Regions from separate parts of the Homo sapiens genome. Here all the other regions are linked to region 1. The links are contacts of gene promoters, found by promoter capture Hi-C in blood cells and fetal thymus (Javierre and others, 2016). All regions are on one chromosome and are shown on one strand. Each heading gives the region's core, a stretch centred on a gene start or on the middle of the fragment in contact. The rest is flanking DNA. Distances are from core to core; before and after follow the strand shown. Region 1 holds the start of MEIS1-AS3 (MEIS1 antisense RNA 3). Region 2 overlaps C1D (C1D nuclear receptor corepressor). Region 3 has its middle 26 kb from the start of C1D. Region 4 has its middle 46 kb from the start of LINC01812. Region 5 has its middle 24 kb from the start of LINC01812. Region 6 has its middle 6.9 kb from the start of LINC01812. Region 7 has its middle 81 kb from the start of ETAA1.

What was found. Contacts are between HindIII fragments. The CHiCAGO score rates a contact against its expected background, and 5 or more counts as called.
Region 2: a fragment that was not itself captured here is called in contact with the fragment with the promoter of MEIS1-AS3 in region 1 in 1 of 17 cell types (M2 macrophages); the score reaches 6.0 in M2 macrophages.
Region 3: a fragment that was not itself captured here is called in contact with the fragment with the promoter of MEIS1-AS3 in region 1 in 6 of 17 cell types (M2 macrophages, M0 macrophages, M1 macrophages and 3 more); the score reaches 14.1 in M2 macrophages.
Region 4: a contact is called between a fragment that was not itself captured here and the fragment with the promoter of MEIS1-AS3 in region 1, in 1 of 17 cell types (endothelial precursors). The highest score is 5.6, in endothelial precursors.
Region 5: a fragment that was not itself captured here is called in contact with the fragment with the promoter of MEIS1-AS3 in region 1 in 14 of 17 cell types (M0 macrophages, naive B cells, M2 macrophages and 11 more); the score reaches 22.9 in M0 macrophages.
Region 6: a contact is called between a fragment that was not itself captured here and the fragment with the promoter of MEIS1-AS3 in region 1, in 4 of 17 cell types (erythroblasts, endothelial precursors, M2 macrophages and 1 more). The highest score is 6.0, in erythroblasts.
Region 7: a fragment that was not itself captured here is called in contact with the fragment with the promoter of MEIS1-AS3 in region 1 in 2 of 17 cell types (endothelial precursors and fetal thymus); the score reaches 6.1 in endothelial precursors.

What each region holds. Positions count from the first base shown.
Region 1 is chr2:66,432,208-66,434,725 of GRCh38, reverse strand. It overlaps MEIS1-AS3 (MEIS1 antisense RNA 3), which reads left to right and starts at 1,256. Exons shown (of 4, transcript NR_046438.2): 1 at 1,256-1,435. RefSeq lists enhancers at 1-205, 1,075-1,427 and a silencer at 450-549. The HindIII fragment of the contact is 5,363 bases long and covers 931-2,518 here.
Region 2 is chr2:68,055,482-68,057,999 of GRCh38, reverse strand. All of the region lies in intron 1 of C1D (C1D nuclear receptor corepressor), which reads left to right. Among named protein-coding and RNA genes, the nearest start is that of C1D, 6.3 kb to the left of the region's middle. The HindIII fragment of the contact is 3,356 bases long and covers 1-2,518 here.
Region 3 is chr2:68,035,616-68,038,133 of GRCh38, reverse strand. No RefSeq gene overlaps it. Among named protein-coding and RNA genes, the nearest start is that of C1D, 26 kb to the left of the region's middle. The HindIII fragment of the contact is 4,289 bases long and covers 1-2,518 here.
Region 4 is chr2:67,869,814-67,872,331 of GRCh38, reverse strand. No RefSeq gene overlaps it. Among named protein-coding and RNA genes, the nearest start is that of LINC01812, 46 kb to the right of the region's middle. The HindIII fragment of the contact is 1,502 bases long and covers 506-2,007 here.
Region 5 is chr2:67,848,406-67,850,923 of GRCh38, reverse strand. No RefSeq gene overlaps it. Among named protein-coding and RNA genes, the nearest start is that of LINC01812, 24 kb to the right of the region's middle. The HindIII fragment of the contact is 1,045 bases long and covers 738-1,782 here.
Region 6 is chr2:67,831,203-67,833,720 of GRCh38, reverse strand. No RefSeq gene overlaps it. Among named protein-coding and RNA genes, the nearest start is that of LINC01812, 6.9 kb to the right of the region's middle. The HindIII fragment of the contact is 3,031 bases long and covers 1-2,518 here.
Region 7 is chr2:67,477,399-67,479,916 of GRCh38, reverse strand. No RefSeq gene overlaps it. Among named protein-coding and RNA genes, the nearest start is that of ETAA1, 81 kb to the right of the region's middle. The HindIII fragment of the contact is 7,874 bases long and covers 1-2,518 here.

The DNA of each region.
Region 1 (2,518 bases), core at 7-2,506:
GGGCAGGGGGTGATGCGCAAAGTACTGAATTCTCAGAACTAAACACTGCAAGGAGAAAAGTCAAAGCGGGATCGTGGAGGAAAAGGAGGGAGAAGCCAGGTTGGGAAAGCCTCTGCTAAGGAGTCCTGAGAACATGGGGTTGAGGTGGCTCGGGCTTTCTGCAGACCCAGCTTAGAGGTTTCTTTGCTGTTAGAGGTGGACGCCCGGCCGGGGGAAAGAAAATGCTAGCATTTTGTCACTTCGGGTCTGGACTCCCCCACCTCCTAGCCCCGGCGGCTCCCAGCCCCAGCCCAGGCGTCCTGCGCGAAGTAGAGAGGAAGGGAGGGAACAATGAGCTGAGCGCGGGGAATGTGCCCCCAGCGCCTGTTTACAAACACCAAGCTATTTATGATCGTCGGAAAGCGAAACCCGGCGCGGGCTCGCAGCAGCCCAGACCTCGCGGGCGGAGCCGGGGCCGGGGAGCCGCTGGGAGGGAGGCTCTTTCTCCGACCCGCTCGGGGTGAGGCGGCCGTGCGCCCAGGGCGCGGCGCGGCGCGGCGCGACGCTGCCGGAGTGCTAGGCTCCGGCTGCAGCCACCGCTGCCTTTGTCTTAGAGGCGCCGAGGGGCTCCAGCCTCGACCTCTCCCGGGCCTGTAAGAACCTCGCGCCCCACTAGCTCTTTCTCCAGCGAAGCCCTGCCCTCACCACCCCAGACATCCTTCCCCGCGCTCCTCTTTCCCGTCCCCAACCCGGCTCGGCGAAACCTCCCAGTGCCAGAGAAAAAGAAATCCGCTTCGGAAGCTGAGATTTCAGACAAAAGCTGCCTGTACCTACAACTCGGAGGCTCCAACCAACCACTGTTTTTTGTTTTGTTTTGTTTTTAACTTTAACACCTATTGCCTGGGCTTTAATTCCCCCTCACCCCTTCTCTTTATTCTCCCGCTCTAAGCTTCTCCCTTGTGATTATATTTAGTGGCGTTATTTTCGTATTTATATTTCTGTCCGCTGGGCTCTGATCTGCCGAGATGGCTCAGCCGCAGCAGCTCTACCAGTGGCTGGAAACCTCACATCCACAAGCAGGGCTCGCAGCTCGCTCGGCTCCGAGAGGATTTTTCCCCCTCCCTCCAGCTGAAACCTCGCAGAAAACTCCCCCTGCGGTCGACTGGAAAATGAGCTCACCCAAATCTCGGTAGGCAGCCGTGGAGGAGTGCTCGGCCAATCAGGAGGCGCCCCCGCCCAGGCCGCCGCGCATTGGCTGCGGGGAAAATCAATTATCAAATAATCGATCAGCAGGGAGCTTCGATCTGCGGGGAATGCGAACTGCCAGTCCCTATTCCCGCCCTGAAGGTGGCCAAAAGGCTGACTCCCTCCAAGCAGCCCGCCCGCGCCTCCATCGCCCCCACCCACGTCCCACTCGCCAGCTGCGGACTGAACCCTCACCCTCAAGGGGGTGTAGGTAGGGAAAGAGTTTTGAGCAAGATTGGGGGTATCCCTTCATCCGAAGATTGTTTGGGAAAGGTTAGGAGCTCTAAAATGTATTGAAGCCAACTCTTAAGCGCAAAGTAAAAGATAATTTGCGTCCGTCTGCGAGGTAGGACTGAAGATTCTATAGAGTGGGCTTCCGAGGAGCAGGAGACACAGGGCGAGCATGAGAACATAGGTCTGGAATGAGGTTCCACCGAGCGTCCGTAGTCTCCTTAGGCGACATCTATCGCTTCCTTTAGCACTTCGCAGGAGTCAACGCGGGGTTGGTTGCCCCCAACAGTGGAGCGTTTCCATAAAGCCGAGCAGATGAGCCTTCCCAGCCGCCTGCACTGCACCCTTCCCCGCCCCCAACTCCGTACTGGCACCCTGTGTGCCTGAAGGGCTGACACACGTTCTCCCAAAACCTTCAGAAGCGCTTTGCCTTGAAAGAGCTCTCCCTCGTGTGTGTGTGTGTGTGTGTGTGTGTGTGTGTGTGTGTGTGTGTGTGTGTGTGTTTAAACCATCTCCAGGATCCCTTATCATTTGCTTCCTCTCTCCTTTTTCTCTCTGTTTCTCCCTGTCTTTTTTCTGACGCTTAAGTTTCAGGATCTTTTAGTTTTTTTCCATCACATACATGTGTAGGTTTTCTGGTACAAACGCCCTGAAACATCACTTGGGAGGTTAAGACAGGCCCGCGAGTAAAAGCTGGGGACGGAGTGGGTGGGCAGCCAGGTGCATTACCAGCGCCTTTATGCCTCTGCCTACACTTCCCGGCCTCCCCCCATCCCCCCACCCCCCCACCCCACGCCTCACCGTCGCTCCCCGGCCCCACAACATGAACTTGGAAGCAGAATTTCAGGCCAAGATGGAACCTCCCCGTCTCAGGAAGGCGATTTCTGTTTAATCCTTGGGAGGCTGCGCTGGCTGGGCCAGGCAGCACGCTCCTTTTCCGATTAGGGAAAGGACTAAGCTGGGCCGGCAGTCTGCGACCCCTTCCCGGAACCCCAGCCGACTTCGGGGTATACCTGAGCGCCTTCCGATGGCTGCTCGCGGGGGTGTGATCATCGTCCCCGCA
Region 2 (2,518 bases), core at 11-2,510, 1.6 Mb before region 1:
TAGAGCTAGAATGGTTGGCTGGGGGCAGAAAGAGAAGATGAGAACTTGCAAAAGCATCTTTAAACCAGTTGACTGGGAGGTATGGCCATGTAGCAAGCAGGCCAGAGGAGGCTTTTGTACCATGAGAATAGAGGAAAATAGCCGCCTGGTGGCTAGACAATTTAGGTGTAGAAAACACATTTATATGGTTCTTTGAATGTAACAGTGGTAAAGAATATAGGTTTAGTTGTTGCTGCTAAGTAGGGGGAAATGACATTTTTATCTGGTATGTTTGAGAATAAAGTAAATTTCAAAATTTGAGATGATCGAAGTTTTTATTTATAAACTTAAGTATTATTATAATATGTTACATATTTTATTCTTTAAAAATTGTAATTCAGAGAGTGTAACAAAATGTACTTCCTCACTTTCTTGCTTTTTGTTTCCCAGAAGTGACCACAGTTAACAGCTTCTTTTGGATCCTTTAAGAAAACTTACATGCATATACCATACAAATATGCCTCCACATTCATATATCTTTTTTTCTTCAAAATAAATGGGATGAGCTGGGCGTGGTGGCTCACGCCTCTAATCCCAGCACTGTGGGAGGCTGAGGCAGGCAGATCACCTGAGATCAGGAGTTTGAGACCAGCCTGGCCAACATGGTGAAACCTCATCTCTACTAAAAATACGAAAAAAAAAAAAATAGCAAGGTGTGGTGGACGCCTGTAATCCCAGCTACTTGGGAGGCTGAGGCAGGAGAATCACTTGAACCCAGTAGGGGAGGTTGCAGTGAGTTGAGATCGCACCACTGCACTCCAACCTGGGCAACAAGAACGAAACTTTGACTCAAATAAATAAATAAATAAATAGGATGTATTATACATGCTGTTCTTCAACTTTTGTTCACTTAATATATCTTAGGAATCTTTCTAAGCTGTACCTCGTACCTTTTCACTACTGCAGAGTATTTTAATAGGTGGGCATATCATAATTTATTTAACCAGGTTCTAATAATGGATGTGTGGGTTGTTCTGTTTTAAAGTTTACTGTTTTAAAGATCATTGCAGTGGAAGTCCTTAAACATTATCTTGCGCTAAAATATACTTTGAGAAGTAAAATTGCTAGGTCAAAGCATGTGTACATATGTGATTTTGAAGCATAGTGCAGATTACCTCACAAAAATGCTAAACTAATTTATACCCTGACTAATAGTGAATGGGAGGCTGTTCTCAGCTCACCTTTGTCCATTTTAGTACTATTAATCTTTTTAATTTTTCCCTATTTGACAGATGAAAATGGCATCATATTTTAGCGATTTATGTTTCCTTAATTATCAGTAAGGCTGAGTAGCTTTCTTTATGCTTATTGGTCATCTGGATTATTTGTGAACTGTTGATTTTCTTGTTTATTTTTCTTTTGGGTTGTGTGTACTTTTTTTGTTATTGTTAAATTGATTCATAGAGGCTTTAAAAAAATCTTTGTGTTGCATATGTCTTTTTTTAGTTTTTTATTTGACATTAGTCTTGGGTGTTTGTTTATTTGTTTATTTTGCCTGCATTTTTAAGGGCCAGGTAAAAATACAAGAAATTAGGATTTTTTTTTTAAAGAAGGGAATTTGCTGGGCTCGATGGCTCACACCTGTAATCTCAGCACTTTGGGAGGCTGAGGTGGGCAGATCACAAGGTCAGGATTTCGAGACAGCCTGGCCAACATGGTGAAACCCCGTCTCTCCTAAAAAAATACAAAAATTAGCTGGGCATGGTGGCACGCACCTGTAAAAGGCAGGAGAATTGCTTGAACTTGGGAGGCAGAGGTTGCGTTGAGCTGAGATTGAGCCACTGCACTCCAGCTTGGGCGAGACAGCAAGACTCTGTCTCAAAAGGATTTTTGTGATACTCTTGAAATAAATAGACACTCTAGAATGTGAGCCTTTTGTTGGAAATGTTAGTAATACAAACTTCATTTGAGACTATATGTTCAGCAACTATCACAGATGTAGTGAGCACCCAGTAACCTTCCTCTCCCTCACTCCAGTTATATTTGGAATTGAAATGAGATGTAATGGAGCTGCTTAAATATTCTAGACGACACCTTCTCTTTAGTTATTCTCCTATATATGAACGGAGTTGTATTCTAAAAGCTAGTTTGTGAGTTAGCCATCTAATTTCACTATAGAAATAATGTACATAGGTTCTTATCTTTGCTCTCAAAGTTGTAATAATTTGTGGAGGCTACTTTTTTTTTAAGCAAATTCAAAATGTTACATAATTTTACCCCTCTATACTTCAGTGTGCATCCTCAAAAGACAGGGAAATTTTCTTATATAACTGTATTGCTATTATCATAGATGACAGAATTATCAATAATTTGTTGGTGTCATCTAGTACTTTGTCCATGTTCAGATTTCTTTCTCACAGAACTATCTTTTTCCACTTGGTTTATTTGAATCAAGATCCAAACAAGGTCTGTGTATTTCATTTGGTTGTTACATCTCTTAAATCTCTTCTTCCTCTGTCTTTCTTCCCCCACTTTTTTT
Region 3 (2,518 bases), core at 9-2,508, 1.6 Mb before region 1:
GATTGCCAGCAACCACCAGAAGCTAGGTGAGAGGCCTGGAACAGATTCTCATAATCCTCGGAAGGAACCAACTTTGCTGATCCTGTGACTTTGGACTGCTAGCCTTCAGAACTGCCAGACAGCACATTTCTGTTGTGTAAGCCACCCAGTTATTGATACTTTGTTATGGCAGCCCTAGGAAACACACACAATGGCCATTATTGAGTGGACACGATTGAGAAGATTAATAACTTGGATGTGAAAATGTGTGTAAAAATCTTTGGCACAAGATGAAAGTGTAATTCTGAAGAAAACCAGGAACCTGGGTAAAGTTATTCAAGAATACTTTTGAATTTGGGCAAAAATCTTGGAACTTACACCTTGAAATGTCAAGGGTCTGTTATACTCTTTCTGAAGCCAAAATGTTCAGACCTTTCTAACATACTGTCAGTTATGATTGAGTGTTGAGTATGCCATCTCTTAATCTTTATCTTGCTTGAAGAAATTTACTTAAAACCCTGTCGGGTTTCCATGGAGAGGAGATTTTCACCATGCCTATTATCATCTGCCATGTGATCTTTCCCTAATGTAATGCAACAGTCAGGTTCAAATAACGAAAATCCTGAAAAAAATCTGCCAGAATATGTGTATAATTTGTCCTCTTGGATAAGCACACACCACTTAAAAAATCGCGTATTGGATTCATCCAGATAGACATTTTTAAAAAATGTGTATGTGTCTATAAATTCTTAACTGTATAGTGTGATATTCAGTTTTCTTTATTTTTTTATTTTTTGAGACGGAGTCTCACTCTGTCACCCAAGCTGGAGTGCAGTGGCGGGATCTCAGCTCACTGCAACCTCCACCTTCTGGGTTCAAGCAATTCTCCTGCCTCAGCCTCCCGAGTAGCTGGGATTACAGGTGCCCGCCACCGTGCCCAGCTAATTTTTGTATTTTTAGTAGAGATGGGGTTTCACCATGTTGGCCAGGCTGGTCTCAAACTCCTGACCTCGAGTGATCCACCCACCTCGGCCTCCCAAAGTGCTGGAATTAGAGGCATGAGCCACGGCGCCTGGCCCAGTTTTCTTTCTTTAAAGTTAGGCATTAGACAAAATTAGTAGCCGGGCGTGGTGGCGCATGCCTGTAATCCCAGCTACTCGGGAGGCTGAGGCAGGAGAATCGCTTGAACCCAGGAGGCGGATGTTGTGGTGAGCCGAGATCGCGCCATTGCACTCCAGCCTGGGCAACAAAGAGCGAAACTCCGTCTCAAAAGACAAAAAAAAAAAAAAAAAAAAAAAAAAAAAAAAAGGTATTAGAGAACTCAGAGGCTGGGCGCAGTGGCTCATGTCTATAATCCCAGCGCTGTGGGTGGCCAAGGCGGGAGGATTGCTTGAGTTTAGGAGTTTGAGACCAGCCTGGGCAACATAGCCTCCATCTCTATTAAAACAAAAACCGAAACAAAACAAAAAAAAGAGCTCTAGTGAGAACTCAGAAGTGGGTTCTCACCCTTAATGATTTAGGGTCAAAGTGGGTTCATACTCTTAATAGTTTGGGCCCAGTTTTTTTTTTTTTTTTAAATATTGTAAATGTTGCTTTATTGGTTTTCAGCGTTTAGAATCAACTGATAGGTAAAACAAGAAAGTAAATGAAATTGACCTTGCCAGTATAAAAGTAAAGGTAGAATAGGCAGAAGTGAGTTAGAAATAGAGAACATATTAGAGGGTCATCCTTATGTGGTGAGAAACACAGATGCTGTACAAAACCGGTGGATGAATACGGTTTTACGTTTATTTTTCAAAGGTAATGGTGATTTATTCTTTTTAATTCTTCTATCAAAAATTGGAAGGGAGAAAGTAGTATAAATTAAATCCTGAGTTTTCAGGCTGGGGAGCTAGTAGATGATATCCAGTGATACAGCAAATGTAGGTGAGTGTTAGGAAAGTTATCACCAGAACTAAAGACAGAAAAGGTTTACAAGTGAGAGTCCCTCACACCAGCAGGAATGAAGTAGATAGTTTTGTTTCTGGTTTTTTCTGTTTCTATTTTTTCCCATCAGATTCTCATGGTGAATATTTTTTGTTGTCATAAACATAATTTCTTTGGTAAAACGAAAGAGAAAAAAAGTTGTAGTGACAAGCAACAAAATTCGTTCAAAGAAGCAGCATGACAATGAGGTACTCCTGTGAATACGAGTTATTTAGTTACTGAAATTTTAAGCAATAAAACATTTCAGTGATGGAGAAATAATATAAGAATACTTAAATGTGGTAGCAAATATTTCATTATCATATATATACATATATATAGTCTGTGAGCATTAACTATTTTTCCTAAATTTGGGCTCAGTTTACTTTTAGACAAGTTGCCTTCCAGATATAGTTAGAGAATAAGAACTCTTATTTGGAAGTAGGTCTCTTCCAAATCTGCCTTCCATGGTATTTTGAAACTTCTGAATCTTACCAAGATAAGTTTAGACACCGCAACAGTAGGGTTATCATATGTAAATGATAGTGTGATTTTTGCTTGAATGTCTTAATAA
Region 4 (2,518 bases), core at 7-2,506, 1.4 Mb before region 1:
GTGCTGACACAAGAGAGAGCATTTATGTGGCTTCCATTCTCCATCTGTCAACAGTTAGGGTAGAGTGCCACTACCTCAGGTTCACTCTTGATCTGATTTCCATGTCAGCTTGGCGCAGGACTGCGGGCTATGCTGTGGGAGCAGGGCGGCTCTGGAGGTCAGTTGCCCCACGTTTTCAGACCATTAATGGTTAGAAGGCTGGAGAGTAAATCGTTTCTGCATGACTCAGAGGAAAGTGCCATTTCCTCTCCTTTATGGTTCATCAGAACCTTGGCCACGCTGCGTTGGCCTTACTTTCCCTGGGCCTCACAGAACTTTGTCCAAGTTCCATTTCGAGAAAGTGGGACTTTCTGTCTCTCACTGGATCTGGTGTTTTCCTGGCCCTGAAACAGCAACCCAGAGAGCTGGTTAAATGATGAATGAGAAAGAAATGCTTCTTTTAGTGTGTGCCTCCACACTTCTGCCCTTACCAGTAGCGTCTGTGTGATTTGTGGTGTAACAAGCTTGCTTTTCCTGTCACTTCAGCCCCCACAAAATCTGTTGGAACTGAGAAAAATCGCAGAGATGTACAATCTGGGAATGAGGGTGACTTGATGTGAATGAATGGAAGAGATTTGCTTCTTCCCACTCTCCTGATGATAGAATCTGTGGGTTCTATTGATTTTTTGGTGCAATTGGTCTTGGTGAATCATTATTAATGGGAAAATAGAATCTCTTCAAGATAATTTCTTCTACATAGAATCATTTATAAAGAGGCCATATGGCTAGCCATAGGTCAAAGGTGGGTGAAGCAAACTCAAAGATGAGCATAGATGCAAACTTTGTCAGGGAAGTTTCTAAGAGAACAGGGATCTATGGAGCATCCAGGGGGAGGTTTTAGTTTGGTCAGTTTCTCCTAGTTTCTTAATGCCTGTTGTTGTGTTTTATCTTTTTCCTCTTGAGAATGTAAGATGAAATAAAGAGAAGCAGAGTTTTGAGCTTTGTTTGCTATTGTGGGTGTCTTGTGAGCTGAGGGTCCTGTACAGCAGAGTCAGGAACTTATTCCACCATGGAAGGGAGATGAGGAGAGTGAGCTGGACGATTTTTGTTGAACAGAGTAATGGGAATGGATACAGTTTATTTAGCACTTTTATGTGTCACTGCATGCTTTATTTACACTATTTCTAATCTTGACAAAAATCTTGCAGAAGAGATGGCTTTACTCCTGTTTTTCAGGGGAAGACACAGACTCAGGTTAAGTAACTTGCTCAGACTTTATAACTAATAGGCGGCAAAGCTGGAAGCCTAACCTCTGTCTGTGTGACCCCATCCTTCTCCAACGCTGTGACATTTCTACCATGTAAAATCTGCTGTGCTAAATCTCATAAGTTGTGAGGAATCAGCATCTAAGCTACTTGCAAGGAGGAGATTTTCTGAAAGAAATAACGTCAATTCAAGAACATGTCCTACATGTAATACATGTGTTAGCATTTATTTGTCAGCATTTATGAGGCACCCACTTCGTGCACAGTTCTGTTCTTAATTCTGTCAGAGGAATGGTGATGAGGATGGGGTGGGAATTGCTTAACATTATTTTTGAGATCCCTAAACTCAGAAGTGACCATCTCCTTTCTAGTAATTTTTGACACTTAACTATTTGAGCTACCTCATTAGGATCCACTCACCTGTGTTGTTGTTAGTTACTTCAAGTCTTTAAGACCACATAATGTGTTTTCTTCTTTATGTTTGCCCATGTTGAGAGTCCTGACACTGTACCAAGTAGGTACTTGATATATATTTAATCAATTGATTGATTGATTGACAGTGTCCACTTAGATCTGCTTACATTTGAAAAGCCAGGGTGCTTTGAAGGGGAGACAGGACAGCTGCAAATGCATACACAGAAAGCTAGAAAATATCATCTGAGGCAGCTACAAAAGTCCATCCACAAGCTGGTGGAGAAAATTCCAGCATGAGAAAAAGTTGTTCGTGTACAAATGCAAATTGCACATAAAACGGATTGAAGCTTGATTGTGGAGCCTAGCTATGTCTCTGAAGAAGCCACGAGTACCTTTCGGAGCTTCTTACTCCTAAGGATCTCTTTCAGCCTTAGTTTAGGGTGGTAATAACTTAAACTCCAACACTGGATGGCCATTGATCAATGAAATGAGCTGGCAGTTTTCACAGACAGATTCGTGAAATGAAATATCTCAAACTGACCAGCCTGAGAACATTTTTCACAGCCTATCCATCCCTTCTGAGCTATTCAGAGAGCAAAGAAAAAGAAATTAGAACTTTGAAATTGCTGCTTGTTCAGTGGCAAACTCTCTGGGACACTGAATGAGTTGCAATTTATCCTGTTTTCCCACTTAGAGAATTGGCAACAGAAGCCACACCAACCACACTTAATGAGTGTAGATATGTCAGGTGCTGTACTAAGTCTCTTGATCTCATTTAATTTTCACTAGGGACCAGCAAGGTAGCGACGGTTATCCTTATTGTGTGGATGAGGAAACTAAGGCTCAGAGAAGGCAGTGAG
Region 5 (2,518 bases), core at 11-2,510, 1.4 Mb before region 1:
AAATGTCTTTCAGCATCAGTGATGGCAGAGACTTAGAGATAAAGGGTGTAGGTGGAAGTAGGAACCTGACAGGGAGACCTCCAGAGAGTGTATTTGTGGAGCTTCTCACTAGGGTGTAGTTGTCTCTCTTTTTTGGTGATTGTGCTTACATTGAGAGAATAGGGATTTGCATGGGCACAACTTATTAAGAAAAGGCAGAGCAGATATTTTGAGACTTAAAGCTTTTCATAAAGAACCAGAGAAGATTTGAACCGTAGTACCTTATCTCTCTGCCATTCACATGGTTCTTTTCTCAGGAACTTTCAAGTGGCGATTAGAATCATGGCATTCTAATAATGAAGGGTCTCACGGAAATTTTCCAGTCCTATCTCCTTATGTTATAGATAAAATGACTCTGGCACACTGAGGTCAAATTTTGATCACCCTCTCCCACCCAAGATCCAGACACCAAAGGTAGAGACAGTGTCCTTGTGTTCTTGGTAGACTGAGGTTAGGCTCACTTTCATTTTTTCCAGCCCCTTCTTATGCTAATAGATGTTGCTGATCTCACCATATGCTGAGTCCATATATCATTATCTTTAATAAACATTAATTGAGAGTTTCTCCTATTGTATACAAGGTTCTGTTCTGCGCACAGGCAAATTCAGTGACAAAAAAGACATAACCCATTCATTTAAAGACCTTAAAATCTTCAAGAAATAACATCAGGGTTCAAAAACATAAAGTAGTTTAAAGCTTATGTGTTCTGCTCGAGAGGTATAATTCAGAGTCCCAGCCTACAGGCAAGGGTGGGGTTTTAGTGCTGGCTTTCTGCCTTTATCCACTGTGACAACTTGAATATGTCACTTGCTATTTTTGAGCTTCTATCCCATCAGTTTAAAAACACTACTATTAATAATGTCTGTCCTTCCGAGTTTTGAGGCATAGATGAGATAAAATTGCCTGAAAACTGTGAAGCGTAGTAGAAATTAAAGGGATCCATATAAATTGAAGATCCCACTCTTGTGGGCATGTGCCCACGGAGTGAAGAGTTAAAGTAATTTATCATCCACTTATCATCATCATGATTCATATCTTCATTATTATAATCCAATTCCTTTTATTAAATACCTCCTTATACGTGGTACTTTATTATTCTCCAGTATCCTAAAACCAAACTGCTACTTTCACTTGACATTTCCAGGTGATCGTGACAAATCAGGGTCGACATGATCTGGTTAGATGTGGCAGTTGCCCATGTCACTTTTTGTATTTGTACATTGGCCACTTGTTTAGCACTTTGTTTGATTTTAGTCACACTATGTTCAACAGAGTGAGACAGTTGAATCTTAACCCAATAATGGGACTTAATTTCTTTATCAAGTTCACAGATGATGACTTGTAAATGTTGACAGTGATGTGACCCAGGAACAATGTCATTCCTATGGAGGAACTTTATGGAGAGATAGCACAAGTTTCAAATAATCTTAAAGAATTCCTCCATCCAATCAAAGGCAGGGGTCCCGAGAGTGTACTGTGACCCAGTGGTTATGATGCTTATTGTTAATGTGGTTGTCAAGGCTGAAATAAACATTCTAAGCTGGAAGTAACTCTCCTTTACAGATGTCTTTGCATGATTCTGAAGCAACCCAGGGATCAACCTGATGTTCATTTTATTCTTCCTACTGTTCTTTTACAACAGGAACTGGATTTTATTTGAGGGACAATGTGCTCAGCTTCTCTTGTAGCTAGAAGTTAGCAAATTAAATTAAGAAGTGGCTCAGTGGGATGTCCAGGAAAGCTTGAGAAGGGAACAATAGCTGACATGTACTTCCTTTTGTTCTTCCCATTTTTTTCTGCTCCATGCCTGGATATAAATGTGACTACTGGAGGCCCAGCCAACAGCCATCTTAGACCATGAGACAGTGTTGCAGATGGAAACCATGTGCTAACTGTGATGGAGCATAAAGATAGAAGGATCCTGACACTCCAGCACTTCCATGTCCTCCTGGACTGCCTTGCTCAGGACTTCCTTCACACGAGGAGGAAGCACATTTATTTAATCACTGTTATATCCAGCCCCTGCTACTAACAGTCAAATGCAATTCCTAACTGATACAGATGCCTTCCCCTCAATGAGTAGCGTCCTTGTTTCTTTGCAGCTAGCTCCTGGAAACGCTGTCTGTTGGTCTATGCTGATTCACAAGCCCCTACAAGAGCAGAGTTGGACTCAGCTTCTGCTAATGAGCAGAGGAATTGCTTGCGAATACAATGCTGGGATTATAAGGTGCTGGCAGCCATGCCAGAATAATAAGGCCAGATGGAAAATCATACTAGTAAATATCTTCGGTGAATATCCTGTCCCACTCCAGTGCCCTCCAAATACCGTAGCCCAGATCTACAGTTCATGTGGTGGGATTGCAGCCTCTCTTTCCCAGAGCCATCATTTCTGTCTGTGGGGAGAATGATGAGGGTCTTGGGTACTACTCCAAATTTTTCTCTGTGTAGCTATTCAGCAGGAGCCCATATTTGTTCCAAC
Region 6 (2,518 bases), core at 9-2,508, 1.4 Mb before region 1:
GCTGACTCATTTTAATGATGGAACATTAGAGAAGGACCCTGTGAAGACTGTCTTCTGTGGGCGTGAGTTATGTCTATATCTTGAACACAGAGTGACCTCTGGCTCCTGTCTCCCCCATGCATGCCGGACACTACTTCCTCTTTATCCATCAGGCCTGCATGCTGAGATTATTTTCAAAGTTCCTGGGGGGCCAACGAGGTAACTGAGGCTTTAGTTGAATCCTGAAAACTCTACGTTGTGAAGGAAAAGGTGGAGTTTGGGTGGGGATGTACACGTGGATTGGGTCTCAAAGTAAAGCAGCTTTGGATTGCTTGAAATCCTTGGATGCTTGATGGCAGAGGTTTGTGTGTGGGCTGAGAGTGGGTGCAGAAATAATGGAAGATGAAGAAGAGTCATATGTCACAATTTTTTCCAGGGCTGCTCAAGAATTTTGCCAGTGGTGCCAATCTATTTGTAGGGATTTGGTTGATCAGCTCACCTATCTTTCTAGAATGTTTTCCTTTCCACTCCCATTCTCATGGTTGCCAAGAGAGCACACAGCATAATTCTAACTCCTTGCCATAGTTAATTGGCCCAGCAGTGGGGAGCTGACCCAAATTGGGCCAATGTGCTCTTTTCCCAGGAATTTGGAATGGGTCCTAAGAGTCAATTTTGACTCTTTCTTGGTACCAGGATTTGGATCATGCAGAACTCAGGAACCATTGAAAAAATGTTTTCTGCTATAAAAAAAGTTTTCTGGCAAATAGGAAGAATGACTCTACAATATGGCAGAGGAAAATGGAGCAGATACACTGGAAAAAATCAAACAGATGCACAGAAAGAAGAAAAATCTGGTTCCCTACATGATTCTAGTTCTTGTTCTAAATGGTTTCTGAGACTAAATTGCATCTATCCTCGTATTCCCTGAGATATTCCAATATCCTTTCAACACTTGTTGTTTGTGGCTTAAGCCATTACAAGTAGGGATCTGTCATTTGCAACTGAGAAAGCCCTAATGAAAACATGCTTTAGAGAAGGTCTCCTGTTGCTGAGGCAGGCCTTTCTGGTTCAACTGCAATGATAGATGGAAGGTAGTGGTGGGCTCAGATCAAAATATGCCATGGAGAATGCCGCTCCTTCTTGTTTATCAATAGTCTCATGACTACTAGCTTGAAGGGTGTTCACAAGATACTCCATCCATCCATCCAATCATCATCTAATCATCTATCCATCTATCCTCTATCCATCTCAGAAAGATTTCCTGATCTCCTCTGTTGGCTAGACTCTATGCTAATGGCTACTCTGTGACCTCTGGTTACTGGTTTTCATGTTGTGCCCGTATTTAGTATATGATGTTATATTAAGTCCTAAAATTATGGTAACACAGAACAGGCCCAGTTCCCTACATTTTGATTCCTACCCCTCATAATATTTCTTTCTATTTTGTACAAATGTGAAATATGTAATTAATACTACCTCTTCTTGGGAAATGTCTTACATCCAATATCCCAAATGCATTAAATACATCATTTAGGTGGTTTTGTGTGTGTGTGTGTGTGTGTGTGTGTGTGTGTGTGTGTGTGTTTTGAGACAGTCTTACTCTGTCACCTAGGCTGGAGTGCAGTGGCGCAGTCTCAGCTCACTGCGACCTCTGCCTCCTGGGTTCAAGTGATTTTCATGCCTCAGACTCCTGAGTAGCTGGGACTACAGGCGCGTGCCACCACACCTGGCTAATCTTTTGTATTTTTAGTAGAGATGGGGTTTCACCATGTTGGCCAGGCTGGTCTCGAACTCCTGACCTCAAGTGATCCACCCGTCTTGGCCTTCCAAAGTGCTCATTTAGGTGTTTTTATATGAAACAGAGAAGAGGCCAGGGGCCAGGTACGGTGGCTTACCCCTATAATCCCAGCATTTTGGGAGACAGGTGGGAAGATGGCTTGAGCCAAGAAGTTTGACACCAGCCTTGGCAGCATGGTAAGACCCCGTCTCTACAAAAAAGTTAAAAAATTAACTGGACGTGATGGTGTGCATCTATACTCCCAGATGTTTGAGAGGCTGAGGTGGGAGGATCACTTGAGTCTAGAAGTTTGAGACCAGCCCAGGCAACAATGAGACCCCACCTCTACCAAAAAAAAACCCAACAGACAAAACGAAACCAAAATTAGCCTGGCATGGTGGCACACTCCTGTAATTCTAGCTACTTGGGAGGCTAAGAGTGAGAGGAGTGCTTGAGCCCAGCAGTTTGAGGCTGCAGTGAGCTATGATCACCCATTATACTCCAGCCCGGGCCACAGGGAGAGACCCTGTCTCTGAAAAATAAAATAATAAAATAAAATAAAATAAAAAATGGGTGTCTCAGAGTCCCTGTCCAGAGACAAGGACACCATTCCTGATGGGTGTTATGTTTGGGATCTACTGGCTCTTTGTCCAAGTTTCTTCATTTTCTTTTTGAAGGCTTAGGTGCTGGTTGAGAGGGTGATGTAGGTTAGCTTGGTTTTCAGCTGTCCTAACCCCTCTTTGGACCATAGATCTTTTCCAA
Region 7 (2,518 bases), core at 7-2,506, 1.0 Mb before region 1:
CCGTGCTTTTCCTCTTCAAAATCTTTACCACCTTCCATTGCTTCCCTCCTCCACTCATACCAAACCCCCTACCTGCTCCCAGAGCTTAAAACCACAAGTTCTTTTCTGGAATCCTCTCAAGACAACAGAGCTAAAAGAGTTAGTGGAAGAGCCCTCTACTCAGACATGATGAGACCACTTGTTAATCAGTTAATCCAAAGTTTGTTCAAGTGGGGAATGATTTAAAATGATATTACACTTAAACATTTATTTTAATGCACGTCCATTTTGCAGCTGTTGATGCAGGGGTGAGGGTCCTTCCTCCTGTCTGGGTCCTCTGGAATTCCACAGCATCTTTCTTATATAAACCATATCCATAATATATTTCTACAATTTCCAGTTTGGAAATTTCTCTGAAAAAAATATGATACTTGCAAAGCACTTTGACTGCCAAAAGAATGTCCACATTGTTTTGCAGCTTTTTCCAATTGTTCACAGTTGTCTGGCCCACCCCATTTCAACAGCCTACTTTTTTTTTTTTTTTTTAACAATCCTACTTTAAACAAAAATCAACTATATTAAGTCTTTCAATGTGCTTGGCTAAATTTTCATAGATTCATGAAAATACATTCATAGCTTCATATTTTATTAAATGACATAATTATAATAAAAAGTACAATGATGGCCAGGTGCAGTGGCTCATGCCTGTAATTCCAGCACTTTGGGAGGCCAAGGCGGGTGGATCACGAGGTCAGGAGTTTGAGACCAGCTTGGCCAATATGGTGATACCCCGTCTCTACTAAAAATACAAAAATTAGCCCATTGTGGTGGTACACACCTGTAGTCCCAGCTACTCGGGAGGCTGAGGCAGAAGAATCACTTGAACCCAGGAGGCAGAGGTTGCAGGGAGCCGAGATCACGCCACTGCACTTCAGCTTGGGCAACAGTGCGAGACTCCATCTCGAAAAAAAAAAAAAAGTACAATGACTTAAGGAGGTTTAGGGACAAACTGTAGATACCATTGGTCCTCAATGAGAAGACACTAGCATTCATCCTGTGGAGGGTTTTATGCAGTGAACAGAGAGCATTTGCTAATCAGGTGGGTCTGATCTGGCAAAGCAGTTAAGTGGGGGCCGTTTAAGAAAGTGTTTGCGGTAGATCTATCAAGTTAAAAATTTTGGAGCCTGTACAATTTCTGATGATTGGCAGAGAAACCCAGGATATAGCTTATCGCCACAAACTCAGTGTGTGACCACAGATAGCAGTGATATTCGAAAGTATCCAAAAACATCAACCAGGCTGGGCACTGTCCAATTAGAACACATGCTGCCCATTAACCACCTGTAAAGATATACTGTGTGTTCTAGTTGAATATCAGCTCTGATGTGGAAAAGCTGACATTCGCGACCTTATTCACTTGCAAATGAAAATACAAGAGCGGTTGGTCAAGCAATACTCTAAGTTCCTTCTAACTCTGACATTCCTTATTGAGCTATGTACACCCCTAATTAATTTCCTTCCATGGGATTAATCATTTTTCTGATTCAATTGTTTGTTCTTTTTCTGGATGGGGGTCATCTCGGAATTGTCGTTGAGACATAGATTCTTGTGGGCAATAACAAGAAGACAAAGCAAGGGAGGCATGACAAGGTATACATTAAATGTAAATGTATAGTGTATATTTTCTATATGCCACGGTATCAAACAGATCTGCTTGCACATACTCATAACCACATACTCACATCCTCCCACCTGATTCTCTAGGGGTCTGTGTTCTGCATGTTTTATTTTGTTTTTTAACCTGGGGATGATGCTAATTTTCATGGCTTGCTTCGTTTACACAGATTGGAGCATGTTTTCCACATACAGCTTCTTGTTTGCCAACAAGCCCAGCTGTTGGGGGGCATAGAAGATCACCCAATTATAGAAAACAGTCTTGAATACCTTTTCATGTTTCCCTCGCCTACCCTGGAGGCTCTTTTCCAACAACTACAATTTTAAGGGCCTTTTTCATTTACAGGAAACATTTACTTCTTTATTACTTTTGTTTGTTTGTTTCCAACTCATCCTAAAAGAGTTTACCATAGCGTAGGTAGGGGACCCTTTTCAGTTCTCCTCTAACAGCCCACAGGGAAAGCAAAACCAGGAGAAACCAAGGCCATGTGACCAGATGAGAGCAGGCTTTTATTTTGAACTCCCTAAAAAGGGAAACAGGACCCAACAGATTTGAACATTTGCTTGGAAAAAAAAAAAGAAAAGAAAAAAATCTCCAAACTACTTTACGGTGTTAGCCCAGGCTCCTGTATGCCAAGTCCCAGCCCATAATAAATTTTATTGCAATGTTATAAACTCCTGAAAAGAGGAACTTGGAATGAAAGTGCTGACACAAGCTGCCAGAGCCAGGCCACTTCATTCTTGTGGACTCTGTCCTGACATCAGCACACGTCTAAGGCAAAACCCCCAAAACTGAAAAAAAATGTTTTGCCCGACGGATTCTTTGATTCTCTCTTAATTTTAGTTAAAAAGAACGGGGGAGGGG